2 separate regions of the Homo sapiens genome follow, and region 2 is linked to region 1. Evidence: promoter capture Hi-C in human tissues and cell types (Jung and others, 2019). All regions are on one chromosome and are shown on one strand. The core of a region is centred on a gene start or on the middle of the fragment in contact, and the rest is flanking DNA. Distances in the headings are between cores, read along the strand shown.

The links. The method cuts DNA at HindIII sites, captures the fragments that hold promoters and counts their contacts. A contact is called where the count stands out against the background at its distance.
Region 2: a contact is called between a fragment that was not itself captured here and the fragment with the promoter of GDF9 in region 1, in 1 of the 25 tissues and cell types used here (hippocampus).

The regions. Positions count from the first base shown.
Region 1 is chr5:132,864,272-132,871,078 of GRCh38, reverse strand. GDF9 (growth differentiation factor 9) reads left to right here and starts at 4,610. Exons shown (of 2, transcript NM_005260.7): 1 at 4,610-6,807. The coding sequence starts at 6,546. It overlaps UQCRQ (ubiquinol-cytochrome c reductase complex III subunit VII), which reads right to left and starts at 4,437. Exons shown (of 3, transcript NM_014402.5): 1 at 4,392-4,437; 2 at 4,044-4,210; 3 at 2,232-3,591. The coding sequence starts at 4,197. The coding sequence ends at 3,497. RefSeq lists enhancers at 4,099-4,599, 4,600-5,100, 3,959-5,158. The HindIII fragment of the contact is 5,371 bases long and covers 2,273-6,807 here.
Region 2 is chr5:132,727,196-132,734,553 of GRCh38, reverse strand. KIF3A (kinesin family member 3A) reads left to right here. Exons shown (of 19, transcript NM_001300791.2): 2 at 76-349. Among named protein-coding and RNA genes, the nearest start is that of KIF3A, 6.7 kb to the left of the region's middle. The HindIII fragment of the contact is 5,462 bases long and covers 1-3,998 here.

The DNA.
Region 1 (6,807 bases), core at 3,361-5,860:
TTTTTGCTGTCCCTAAGCAGGAGGTGCCTAATAAAAGATGAAAGACTCTGAAATGGAAAAACTTTACCAGGTAAAATTTCAACAAAAGGTCAAGGTGTATTTGCTTTTTTGCTAGCTGGAACTGGCATAGACTTTTGGGCCTACCTTAGGCCTGCATTTTGAGGACTGCCTGCAAACTAAAAGAGCAAGGGCATTCCTTTCATCAGACTCTGCAGCCCATAGATAAAAACGCTTGTGGGGGCAGGAGCATTTGGAAAAAGAAAGGTCAAATGGAGCAAATGGTTGTGCCAGAGTAGCAGGTAAGGGATCCATACCCAGGACTGGAGGCTCCAGATGGGTTACCAGCACTGAAGCCCACAGCAGCTGTCTTTCCTTCAAAGGTTTTACTCAGGTTCTCCTCTGAGGATTTCTGCAAATGTCCCCTAAAATGATCCCAGGTCATGTATAGGAGCACTGAACTACTAAAACTCACCACATTCCACACACCCACCACCTCAGCACTCCTGCCACACAGGTGAGATCCATTTCCCCAAGCTTAGAGAGGGAAGCCCTTTGATGAGACACAGGCTTAAAGCAGACTAATTTCATCCAAAGCAGAAGCTCCACACATCACAGGGCTTACGGCAGAGTCATCTCAGTAGAGCACTCCTGGAATAAAAAGAATAGGCTTGGTGCCTGGTTTGGGCTGAGAAAAGGGATTTGGATCTTTTGAGCTGGTCTCTCCAAAGGAGTCAAAGAACCAGGGAGAAATAGTCTAAGTGTAGAACAAGGTGAGCAAGATGGGAGAGGGTGGCCGTCTACTTCGGCGGGTTGGGGCAAACACCAGAGGGAGAAAGACATTAACGGCCTCTCAAAGCAGTGGTCCTCCTCTGGGCTGTGAACTCTTTGAAGCTATGCAAGGTAAGGATGGGTCCACAGTTTTCATCATTCTCAAGTCTATGACCCAAATATGTTGCAAGACCTGGGAATAAATCTGGACAAAGAGGCAAATGGGAAAATTGGACTGTCTTTTGGGGGTGAGGTAGAAGAGTTCCTCAGTTAGTTGCCCTGTGTTAAGCCCGTACCATCTTGCCAGACACTTGTCACTCATTTCACCATCACCACAACCCAAGAACTTTATAATATTTCTATTTTATGGGTGAGAAGCTTAAGGCTCATGAAAGTAGGTTTCTTGCCTATATCACATAATGAGGAAGTGACGGGCTAAGAGGACGAGCCCAAGACTGTAAGACTCAGCCTTTTCCCCGTATCCTGCCTCACAATGTAGTTTATCTTTTAGGTTTTGTTTTGAAGTCTCGCTCTGTCACCCAGGCTGGAGTGCAGTGGCACAATCTTGGCTCACTGCAACCTCCACCTCCCAGGTTCAAGCGTTTCTGCCTCAGCCTCCTGAGTAGCTGGGATTATAGGCGTGTGCCACCACACTCAGCTAATTTTTATATTTTTAGTAGAGACAGGGTTTCACCATGTTGGCCAGGCTGGTCTCAAACTCCTGACCTCAAGTGATCCATCCACTTCAGCCTCCCAAAGTGCTGGGATTACAGGTGTGAGCCACTGTATCCGGCCATGTTTTGAAGTATCTTAACTTTTGATTCTTAAAAGGCAATAGCAGTAATTAGGATAATAAAGATACAGTCTGGCCAGGCACGGTGGCTCACACCTGTAATCCCAGCACTTTGGGAGGTCGAGGCAGGTGGATCACGAGGTCAAGAGATCAAGACCATCCTGGCCAACATGGTGAAACTCCGTCTCTACTAAAAAAAAAAATAAAAATACAAAAATTAGCTGGGTGTGTTGGTATGCGCCTGTAGTCCCAGCTATTTGGGAGGCTGAGGCAGGAGAATCACTTGAGCCCGGGAAGCGGAGGTTGCAGTAAGCTGAGATTGCGCCACTAAACTCCAGCCTGGTGACAGAGCAAGACTCCCATCTCAAAAAAAAAAAAAAAAAAACACAGTCTGACCCAGAATCAAAGTTGCTGCTAGCAGGAAGAGTCCTTAGAAGAGTTTCTAAAAACGGATCTCAGATCCCATAGCATATACTGTACTGACTGAGCTATGACAACTCATCATATTCCACATACCTGCTACCACAGGTGAGATCCATGTCCCGAAGCTTAGAGAGAAGCCTCTCTAAGGAACTAGAGGCATAAAACTGCCAACCACACCTACCCCCACCATCTCTCGGTGGGCGAAGGGAAAATGGTATCTTTAATACCAAAAAGATAATTTAAAGGCTTTAGATCAGGGGTAAACTTTATTCATAAAGGGCCAGAGTAAATCTTTGAGGCTTTATGAACCACATATGGTTGAAAACATTGTTGGCCTCCTGGCACAGAAACAGAAAACTGCTGTGGAGGCTAAGAGATCACCTCATCCGTTTTATAGCTGATATCCCCTCAGGCTAAGGCCTGCCTTAGGAGGAAAGGCAGTAGAGCAAGCTTGTCCAACCGCAGTCCTGGGCAGCAAGCAGCCCAGGATGGCTTTGAATCCGACCCAACAAAAATTTGTAAACTTTCTAAAACGCTGAGGGTTTTTTTTGCCATTTTTTAAAGCTTATCAGCTATTGTAATGTTAGCGTATTTTATGTGTGGCCCAGGGAAGCTAAAAGATTGGACACCCCTGCAATAGAGCATAGTTTTAAGAGCATCACTTTAGTGCAAGACTCCACCATTCACTGCTGTATAATTTCTGGCAAATTACTTAATCTCTCTGTGCCCATTTCCTCATCTGCCAAATGAGGATACGTTAAAGGTGCTTGTGAGGTTTAACAGTTCATTTGTGTAGCTAAGAAGAGTATTTGAGGCCCAGAGCACCATGGCTTACGCCTGTAATCCCAGCACTTTGGGAGGCTGAGGCGCACAGATCATCTGAGGTCAGGAGTTCCAGACCAGCCTGGCCAACATGGTGAAACCTGTCTCTACTAAAAATACAAAAAATTAGCCAGGTGTGGTGTCCTGCACCTGTAATCCCAGCTACTCGGAGGCTGAGACAGGAGAATCGTTTGAACCCAGGAGGCACAGATGGCAGTGAGCCGAGATCACACCACTGCACTCCAGCCTGGGTGAGAGAGCAAGACTCCATCTCAAAAAATAAAAAATAAAAGCGTCCCTGACACATACTAATTACAATATAGTTAGTAGACTTTATTGTTGCTATGGGAGCAGAGGGCCAAGAACCAGCACTCGCCATAGCCCATGTCACCCACAAATGGTTAGATGCAGGAGTACCTGCAGCTACTTTCTTGTAGATAATGGAACAAAGGGGGAGCCCTGCTCTTTCACCAAAACCCGAGACCAGGCAAAACTTCAAGACTCATGCTGAGGAGGGGCGCTTCATGAACTTGAATATTAGTGGTCACACAGGATTCTACTCACAAAAATGTAATATCACAACAGTGCAGACCATAGGAAGTTTATTGTGTCTTTGAGACACTACAATGCAGACTCCTCTTCCAGAGAAAGGTCTTTCAGAGACAGGGAACCGTCATCCGGATGCGTTGCTCATTTGTCATTTTCATAGGCAGCTGGATTCTTCCTCTTGGATCTCTCGAACTCTTCAGTCCCCCATGTGTAGATAAGATAAAACACTACAAACTCTTTAAAAATTAAGAGAGTAAACAGAGAGCACACATATAAGACATATAGAAGAAAAAAAAAGGTCTCAGTCCTCTTGTCTTCTTTAAAGCATACACTTCAGTAGTTCTTAGCATATCCAAGGCCATGCAACTATCATCACTATCTGCTGCACGTTTAACACAAAGCATTTCACCACTGGTAAGAACTAAATAAAGGTGACCTCAGAGGAACATGCTGGAATCACCCGAGTGACCTTGGGCCAGTCATTTCAGTTCTGTAGCTCAGTTTTCCCCGTGTAAGATGGGGAGGATAATATGACCAGCTTAAGGGCGGTCAGGAATATTCAATGAGAAAGGTGTGTACGGCAAGTTACAGAGCGCCTGCCCGGCCGCCAGCGCTCAGAGGGGAGGCGCAGTGACTGCTGCTGCTGCTGGGGTCCAGCCTCCCGCTCCCGCGGGCCCAAGGCACTCACGCGGCACCACGCGAAAGAAAGACTCCCGAATGCGGCGCAGAACATTGGGGATTCCTTTAGTGAAGACGTGCGGATAGGCGCGCTGCTCGAACGGTGACAAGCTGTAGCTGATCACATGCCGCATCCGCGTCAGATTCCCAAACTCGCGGCCCATTGTGGCGGCGGCCCTGCAGGACCGAGGGTGGACAGGCGCTTGGCTCGCTTTCGCGAAGCGCCGCAGTCCCCGCGGGGGTCCATCCCCAACCCCAGACTCCTGCCCCTGCACTCCTTATCCTTTCCCAGCCCAGCGGGGCGCCCCTAGCCTCCCAGGGTCCACGAACACTGCACAACCAGACCCCACTCACGCACAGGGCTCAGCTCGCCCTCCACAGTCACCGATCCGGTTGACTCGTTCGTCATTTCCGGCAAGGTTGGAAGCCGCTCTTGGAGGTCGTGAGGTAACTTCCGGGAGATACCATTTTCCTACTGTCTCTAAGGGATGACGCCTTTGTCCCAGAAAGAAGTGGGCTGACTGGGTGACCCGTAGGTGGGAGGTGCCTTGGAGGCCCTGCCCGGGCCGGTGGGGTGGAGCCTAGCGGAGGACGTCGGGGATTGAACTGACTTTGGGGGACAGTGGACAGGCGGAGGCGCTCACACTTCTCCTCAGCCCTCGGCTTTTCTGTGGAATCCCAGTCAGGAAGCGGCCGAATGCGGGAGGCGGGGGAGGGAACAAAAAGGTGACGAGGAAGGGGCCTGCCGACCTCCGGGGCAGCGCTGGCCAGGAGCTTGGGGCCTGCGAGTCTTCCCAGCTGTAGACAGAGCGCCTCTGAGCCCCGAGGCCGGGCCGCCCCACAGCAGAGGAGCACGAGGTTTCATTTGGCCTTGGCCAGTAGCTCAAAGGGGGCTTCGTTATTTTCAGGCCATGAGCGACCCCAGCACCAAAATCAGGGACACACATCGAAGGCTTCTCTTGGACTCTGTTTTAGAGTCCCCTGGCAGGCTGTTAACGTTCCCAAGAGATAATACAAACGTTTCGTCAGTTTCAGCCACAAAAATAATCAAATAATCGTCAATTGATGAATGCTGAGGCCGCCTCGACAGCAGCCAGCGTCCTCCCCAGATGGTTTGCGTGGGGTGGGGGGAATCACGATGCCCCAGTTCTTTCTTCTCCCCACGTGAGAAGCAAGGAAAGTCGGGTGAGAGGCCTTATTATGTTTTCCCTGAAGTGCATTCTGCTTGACGATGCTGTTGTCAATGTACAGCTCGCCCTGAGGTGTCTTGTCAGTGTTTTGTTAATGGAATTGCTGGCCATATTTTATCTAGGACTAAGCTCTCATTCAACAGTTGGCTGTGTTTTATAACACTACTTACGGACCACGGAGGCTCGGCAGGCAGTCAACTTGTATTTTGCAGACATACCTTAGTTTTCTCATGTAGGTACTGCACAAACTGGCTTCGTATCTTGCACTATGAGTGTAGGCTGACTCTTCCAGCATAGTCTCCTTCGGGGTGGCGCTGAATATCCCCTCATTTCAGCTTTTCATGGTGCTCCTTTGCCTCATTTTTTTAAACCATAATGTCTAGCCTGGTCTCAGCTCCAAGGCAAGAACAGAAATACAGGTAAGGACAGAAATATTGTGGCAAATTCTACCACCATTTGGATGAATAATAATAAAACGTTCATTTATTTTATAGCATCTGCAAACATCCCAAAACCTTTCAACCAAAATATGTATAGATGAGTGTGCAGACCAAAGTAAGGACATCAGTATGTTACATTTAAAAATAAGTCAAGGTTAAAGGCGGTGTCCTCTTTTAAGAACATCGCAAATACAATTCCAGTACTCCAAGTACGTATTCTGTACCCAGCCACCTGGGAGGACTGAGAGACCTAATGGTTTTCTGCTTTCTGGAACTTCTATGCCAATTGTGACTTTCTCACCCAAATTTGTAAATTCGCAAATTAACATGCAGCGAATAATTACAATTGTAAACACCTGGAAGTGGAAAAGGCCGTGAGGATAAATTGAGAGGAAGAGTAAACCTAATACCATAAGTTGCATACCAGCAGATCTGAGTATCGTCATGAATAATTGGTTAGCTTTTCCACATGCCTTAGAAGTTTCAGCAAGCACCTAGCGAACATCTTAATCCAAATTTCTCAAAAAATGAGAGATTTTATTTAAGATCATTCCTCAATTTATCTTAGACTTTCAGCTACATAGTTAGTCCGGTAGTGTAACAGTAACGGGTTTTACGTAAATGCCAGGGGAAAAGAGAGGAAAGCTAAATAACCAAGTAAATCTGTATCTAATTAACAAATTGGCTAAATAAGGTGTTATCAGCTGCTTGATATAGAGCTGATAAAATCTTCAGCTAGGCATACTTGAGGCCTGATTACAGAAGTGACCGTAGTCCACCCACACACCTGAAATTTATTTAAGAGACCAAGCTAGGCTCTTCCTGGCCTTTAGGAAGAGGACTGGCATGGAGAAATATGTTCCTCACTAGTTCTCCCAAGCCATGGCACGTCCCAACAAATTCCTCCTTTGGTTTTGCTGCTTTGCCTGGCTGTGTTTTCCTATTAGCCTTGGTTCTCAGGCTTCTGGGGGAGAAGCTCAGATTGCTGCTAGTGCTGAGTTGGAATCTGGGGCTATGCCTTGGTCCTTGCTGCAGCATATAGATGAGAGAGACAGAGCTGGCCTCCTTCCCGCGCTTTTCAAAGTTCTATCTGTTGGGCGAGGTGGGTCACCTAGGCTGCAGCCAGACTCCAGAGCTTTGCACT
Region 2 (7,358 bases), core at 18-2,517, 130 kb after region 1:
AAAGTTTATAAATTTAATCTGATGAGGGTAAAAATTAATGTTCTTTTCATTATTTGTAAATATTATCTCCAACAGATCAATAAATCAGAGAAGCCAGAAAGCTGCGATAATGTGAAGGTTGTTGTTAGGTGCCGGCCCCTCAATGAGAGAGAGAAATCAATGTGCTACAAACAGGCTGTCAGTGTGGATGAGATGAGGGGAACTATCACTGTACATAAGACTGATTCTTCCAATGAACCTCCAAAGACATTTACTTTTGATACTGTTTTTGGACCAGAGAGTAAACAACTTGATGTTTATAACTTAACTGCAAGACCTATTATTGATTCTGTACTTGAAGGCTACAATGGTAAGTGAATCTTTACTTTTTAAAAAACTCCCTTATTGAGACATAATTACTGTGCCATAAATTCACATATTGCAGCTGTGCAGTTTGATGAGTGTAGTAAATATATACAGTTGTGAAACCATCATCACAATCCAGCTTTAGAACACCCTTGTCATCCTCAAAATTTCCTTTATGCCCATTTGCAGACCCACCCCCAAGCAACTATTGATCTGCTTTCTGTCACTATAATTTTGCCTTTTCTTGAAATGTCATATAAATGATGTCATATAATATGTCACCTTTTTTATCTGTTTTCTTTCACATCAAATAATGTTTTTGAAGTTTATCCTGCTAGGATTTTCATAGGGATTGTGTTGAATTGTCATTCTGACAATATTGAGTCTTCAGTCCATGAACATGATACTTCTCTTCATTTAAAACGTTGAAACATTAATGAATTATGGACAGGGTCTTGCTCTGTTGCCCAGGCTGGAGTGCAGTGGTGCAGTCATAGCTTACTGCAGCCTTGAACCTGGGCTGAAGCTATCCTCTCACTTCTGCCTCCTGAGTAATGAGAACTACAGCTGTGCGCCACCACACCTGGCTCATTTTTTTGTTTTTGTAAAGACTGGGTCTTGCTGTGTTGCTCAGTCAGGTCTTGAACTCCTAGGCTCAAGCAATCTCCTACTGAGGCCTTTCAAAGCCCTGGGATTTCCCATGTCAGCTACCATGTCCAGCTTCTCTCCATTTATTTATATCTTAATTTCTCTCATCTGTATTTTGTAGCTTTTAGTGTACAAGTATTGCACTTGTTTTGATTAATTTATTCCTAAGTATTTTTTTGATGCTATTGTGAATAGGATTGCTTTCATAATTTCAATTTTGGATTGTGTGTTACTAATATATAGAGATGAAATTGATTTCTTTAGGTAGCTTTTGTGATAAAATTCAAATATCAAATTTATGATTTTAACCATTTTACACTTTATAGTTCATAGGTACATTTACAATGTCGTACAGCTGTCACCGCTGTCTGTTTCCAGAACATTTCTATCACTCCAAAAAGAAACCCTGTATCCATTAGCAGTCAGTCACTCCCAATCCATTACCACCTCCCTTCCCCCAACCCAGCAACTACTAATTTACTGTCTATATCTATTCTATGAGTTTGCCTATTCTGGACATTTTCTATAAATGGAATTATATGCTATGTGGCCTTTTGTGAATAACTTCTTTCACTTACAGTGTTTTCAAGCTTCATCCCTATTGTAACATATAAACATATATCAGCAATTCATTACTTTTTTTTTTTTTTTGGAGACGGAGTCTTGCTCTGTCGCCCAGGCTGGATTGCAGTGGCGTGATCTTGGCTCACTGCAACTTCTGCCTCCTGGGTTCAAGCGATTCTCCTGCCTCAGCCTCCTGAGTAGCTGGGACTACAGGCGCCCGCCAACACACCCAGCTAATTTTTTGTGTTTTTAGTAGAGACGGGGTTTCACCGTGTTAGCCAGGATGGTCTTGATCTCCTGACCTTGTGATCCGCCTGTCTCAGCCTCTGAAAGTGCTGGGATTACAGGCGTGAGCCACTGCACCTGGCTGATTTTTGTATTTTTAGTAGAGACGGGGTTTCACCATATTGGCCAGGCTGGTTTTGAACTCCTGATCTTGTGATCCACCCGCCTCGGCCTCCCAAAGTGCTGAGATTACAGGCGTGAGCCATTGCACTAGGCCAGCAATTCATTATTTTTTATGTCTGAATAATATTGTATAGATATATCATATTTTGTTTATCCATTTATTAGTTGGTGAACATTTGTTGTTTCTACTTTTTAGCTATTACAGATAATGTTACTTTGAACATTCTTTTACAGATTTTTGTGTGAACATATGTTTAGTTTCTCTTGGGTATATACCTAAGAGTGGAATTACTAGGTCACATGGTAACTTTGTTTAATGTTTTGAGGAGCTGCCAAACTTTTCTACAGTAGCTACACCATTTTATATTCCCATCAGCAATGTGTGAGGTTTCTGATTTCTTCACATCTTTGCCAGCACTTGTTACTGTCTTTTTGATGACTGCCCTCTTAGTACCCACAGTTGATTTTTGTATATTGACCTTGTATCCTGAAACTTTGCTAAACTTATTAATTCTAGTAGTTTTTTTATGTTTTGGGTTTTTTGTAAATTTTGTAGGATTTTCTACTTGTAAGAATATGTTGGCCAGGCACAGTGGCTCACGCCTGTAATCCCAGCACATTGGAGGCCGAGGCAGGCAGATCACGAGGTCGGGAGTTCGAGACTAGCCTGACCAACATGGTGAAACCCTGTCTCTACTAAAAATAAAAAAATTAGCCAGGCATGGTGGCACGTGCCTGTAATCCCAGCTACTCGGGAGGCTGGGGCAGGAGAATCGCCTGAACCTCGGAGGCGGAGGTTGCAGTGAACCAAGATCGTGCCATTGCACTCCAGCCTGGGTGACAGGGCAAGACTCTGTCTCAAAAAAAAAAAAAAATGTTGTTTGCAAGTAAAGACAGTTTTTACTTTGTCCTTTCCAATCTCCTTTAATTTATTTTTGTTACCTGATAGCACCTGGAGGCTAGAACCTCCAGTAAATTAGAAGTGGTGAGAGTGGACATTTTGGTCTTGTTCCTGATCTTAGGGAAAATGCATTCATTCTTTCACCAGTATGATGATGTCTGTAAATTTTAACAGATATCCTTTGTAGGTTTGAGGAAGTTCCCTTCTATTCTTAGTTCGCTGAGAGTTTTTGGATTGTATATTGGATTTTGTCAAATGTAATTTTTTTTCTGCACCTATTGAAATAATCTTTTTTTTTAAGGTTTGTTAATATGGTCAATTACATTGATTGATTTTTGAATGTGAAACTAGCTTTGCCACTTGGTCATGATGCATTATTCTGTTCATATATTGTTAGATTTATTTGCTAAATTAAAAAAATTTTGGCATCCATGTTCATGAGGGATGTAAGTATATAGTTTTCTTCTAATGCATTTTTCTGGTTTGGGTATTGTGATAATGCTAGTTTCATAGAATGGGTTAGAAAGTATCCCCTTCTTTTCAGTTTTCTAGAAGAATTTGTCTAGAATTGGTATTATTTCTTAAATGTTTGGTAGAATTCATCAGTGAAGCCATCTGGGCTTGAAGTTTTCTTTGTGGGAAGGTTTTCAACTATTGATTCAATTTCTTTAATAGACATAAGACTATTCAGATTATGTATTTTTTCTTTTTCTCTTTAAATCAGGGTCTCACTCTGTTACCCAGGCTGGAGTACAGTGGCACAATCACAGCTCACTGCAGCCTCGACTTCCTGGCCTTAAGCAATCCTCCCACCTCAGCCTCCCCAGTAGCTGAGGCTACAGGTGTGTGCTACCACGCCTGGCTAATTTTTTCTATTATTATTATTTTTTTCTTGAAACAGGGTCTCACTCTGTCGACCAGGCTGGAGTGCAGTGGTGTGATCATGGCTCACTTAGCGTCTACCTCCCGGGCTCAAGCGATCCTCCCACTTCAGCCCCCTGAGTAGGTGGGACTATATGTGTGTGCCACCGCACCATGCCCAGCTAATTTTAATTTTTTTTTGGTAGAGATAAGGGTCTCACTATGTTTTCTAAGCTGGTCTTGAACTCCTGGACTCAACCAGTCCTCCCACCTCAGCCTTGCAAAGCACTGGGATTACAGACATGAGCTACCGTGCCCGGCCAGGTTATCTATTTTTTCTTTTTTTTTTTTTCTTTTTTTGAGACAGAGTCTTGCTCTGTTGCCCAGGCTGGAGTGCAGTGGCGCGATCTCGGCTCACTGTCTCCTCTGCTTCCCCGGGTTCCAGCGATTCTCTCGCCTCAGCCACCTGGGTAGCTGGGATTACAGGCACACGCCACCATGCCTGGCTCATTTTTGTAGTTTTAGTAGGGACGGGTTTCACCGTATTGGCCAGGCTGGTCTCAAACTACTGACCTCAGGTGATCCGCCTGCCTTGGCCTCCCGGAGTGCTGGGATTACAGGCGTGAGCCACCGTGCCCAGCCAGTTTTTTCTTAAGTGAGGTTTGGTAGCTTGTCTTTCACGGAATTAGTCCGTTTCATCTAAGTTGTCAAATTCATTGGCAAAAGGTTGTTTATACTATTCCCTTATTATTCTTTTAGTATGTTGAATGTAGTGGTATAACTTTTCTCATTTTTGATATTGGTAACTTACGTCTTTTCTTTTTTTCCTGATTAGTCTGACTAGAGGTTTATCTTATCGATCTTCTCAGAGAACCAGCTTTTGGTTTTATTAATTTTTCTTTCTGTTTTTATGTTTCCTATTTCATCTATTTCTGCTCTGATCTTTATTTTTTTTTCTTACTTACTTTGGGCTTAATTTCCTCTTTTCTTTCTACTTAAAGTGGAAGCTGAGGCCATGGTTTGAGACCTTTTTTCCTTTCTAATATGGGAGTTTAATGCTATAAATTGCCACTGAGTACTGTTTTAGTGTCATCCCACAGATTTTGACATACTATGTTTTCATTTTCATGTAGTTCAAAATACTATTTTACCTCCTGATTTATTCTTTGATCCTGGGTTATTTAGAAATGTGTTATTTAGTTTCCAAATATTTTTAAATTCTCTAGAGATTTTTGGTTATTGGTTTCTAATTTAATCTCAATTTAGAGAACATATTTTTTATGGCTTGAATGTTTTTAAATTTATTAAGACTTGTTTTATGACCCAGAATATAGTTTTGTTGTTGTTGTTGTTTTCTGTTTGTTTTGTTTTTTTCAAGACAAGGTCTCACCCTGTCACCCAGGCTGGGGTGCAGTGGCACTATAACGGCTCATTGCAGCCTCAGCCTCCTGGACTCAAGTGATTCTCTCGCTTCAGCCTTCCCAGTAGCTGAGACTACAGGAGCATCCCACCATGTCTGGCTAATTTTTTTTTAAATTTAGTTTTAATTTCAATAAGTTTTTGGGGAACAGGTGGTGTTTAGTTACATGAATAAGTTCTTCAGTGGTGATTTCTGAGATTTTGGTGCACCCATCACCCAAGCAGTGTACACTGTACCCAATGTGTAGTCTTTTATCTCTCACTCGCCTCCCACTCTTTCCCCTGAGTTCCCAAAGTCCGCTGTATCGTTCTTACGCCTTTGCACCCTCCTAGCTTAGCTCCTACTTGTAAGTGAGAACATACGATGTTTGATTTTCTGTTCCTGAGTTACTTCTCTTAGAATAATAGTCTCTAGTTCCATCCAGGTTGCTGCCAGTGCCATTATTTTGTTCCTTTTTATGCATGCCTGGCTAATTTTTAAAATTTTTTGTAGAGATGGGGTCTCACTGTGTTGCCTAGGTGTTGCCTAGCTGGTCTTGAACTCCTGGGCTCAGGTGATTCTCCCACCTCAGCCTCTCAAAGTGCTGGGACTATAGCAGGAGCCACGGCACCCAGCCCAGAATATAGTTTATTATATTTATTTATTTATTTATTTATTTATTGTATTTTTTGAGACAGAGTCTCACTCTGTCACCCTGGCTGGAGTGCAATGGTGCGATCTTGGCTCACTGCAGCCTTCGCCTCCCAGGTTCAAGCAATTCTTGTGCTTCACCTTCCCGAGTAGCTGGGACTACAGGCATGTGCCACCACACCCAGCTAATTTTTGTATTTTTAGTAGAGGTGGAGATTCACCATGTTGGCCAGGCTGGACTCAAACTCCTGACCTCAAGTGATCTGCCCTCCTTGGCCTCCCCAAAGTTCTGGGATTACAGGCATGAGCCACCCCGCCTGGCCATAGTTTATTATCTTTAAATAATAGTAATAATAATAAATAGTGCCTATTTTTTAGGATTGGGGTGAAAGTTAAATAAGAATGCAAACATAGCTGGGAGGTGCACCTGTAATCCCAGCTATTTACAGGTGGATTACAGGCAGGAGGATTCTCCTGAGCCCAGGAGTTTGAGGCTGCAGTGAGCTATGATCGTGCCACTGCTCTCTAGTCTGAGTGACAGGGCAAGACCTCATCTCTTAAAAAAAAAGCATGTAAAGTACATGACCTAGCACATAGCAAATGATCAGTAAGTGACAGCTGATGTCCTTATAAAGCTTATTTTTTATTTAATAATTTAATGTGTCTATTCTGAAATGCAGTCTATGAGCTCATGATATTTTCTGCTTCAAGTGCAGTGTTATATTCCTAATAGCAGAGTTTGAAATACTTAGTCAGTTTGAAAAAATTAAGACTTTTTTATTCCCATGTGTAAAAAATGGCTTCTGGTATGATTCATTTATTTTCACGGAAAAGTCTGAAAAGTGTGTTATGATTATTTTCACAAAAAAAAGTCTGAGAAAAGTTGAGGTTAACTGAATAGAGTAGTATTAGTTGAGGAACCGTTTTCATATATGCCATCACATCCAAGGCTATCTTTTCTTACTACACTGTGTCCTGACCAACTACTCCAGCCCTCTGTTTCCCCACATCGACCCTTGGTTTTCTCCAATTCTTCATCCACAATATAGCCATAGTGATCATGATGTCACTCCTCTGATTGAAAAATCATTCTATGGCTTCATGTTGCTTTTAGGATAAGGTCTAAAAAGTTTAATACCGTCCTTATTATACTGTGTGATTATGGCATTGTCAGTTTCTCTAGCTCTGCCTGCATCCATCTTCCCTTTCCATCTCTGTTTCTTCCATTCTGGTCTCATTTCAGTCCTCAAAATTTCCATTCTTTTTCTTGGCTCTTGCTGTCCACACTGTTCCTATCTGATTCTTACTTGTATTTCAGATCTAAACCTTACCTCTTCTGGAAAGTCCTCCCTGACCCCCTCTCCTTTTTCCCATTACAATTCCTGTGCCTAGTTGATGTCCCTGACTCCCATCTAGAACTCCCTGTTTCTCATTCTGAATACTCATCATCATGATAAACCCAAGATTATACACATCATAAGATTAGGGATTGTGTTTGTCTTGTCACTGTGTCTCTAGTGCCTAGCACAATGCCAAACTCAGGTGTGTGGTAAATGTTTGTTGAATGAATGAATTTGGGTA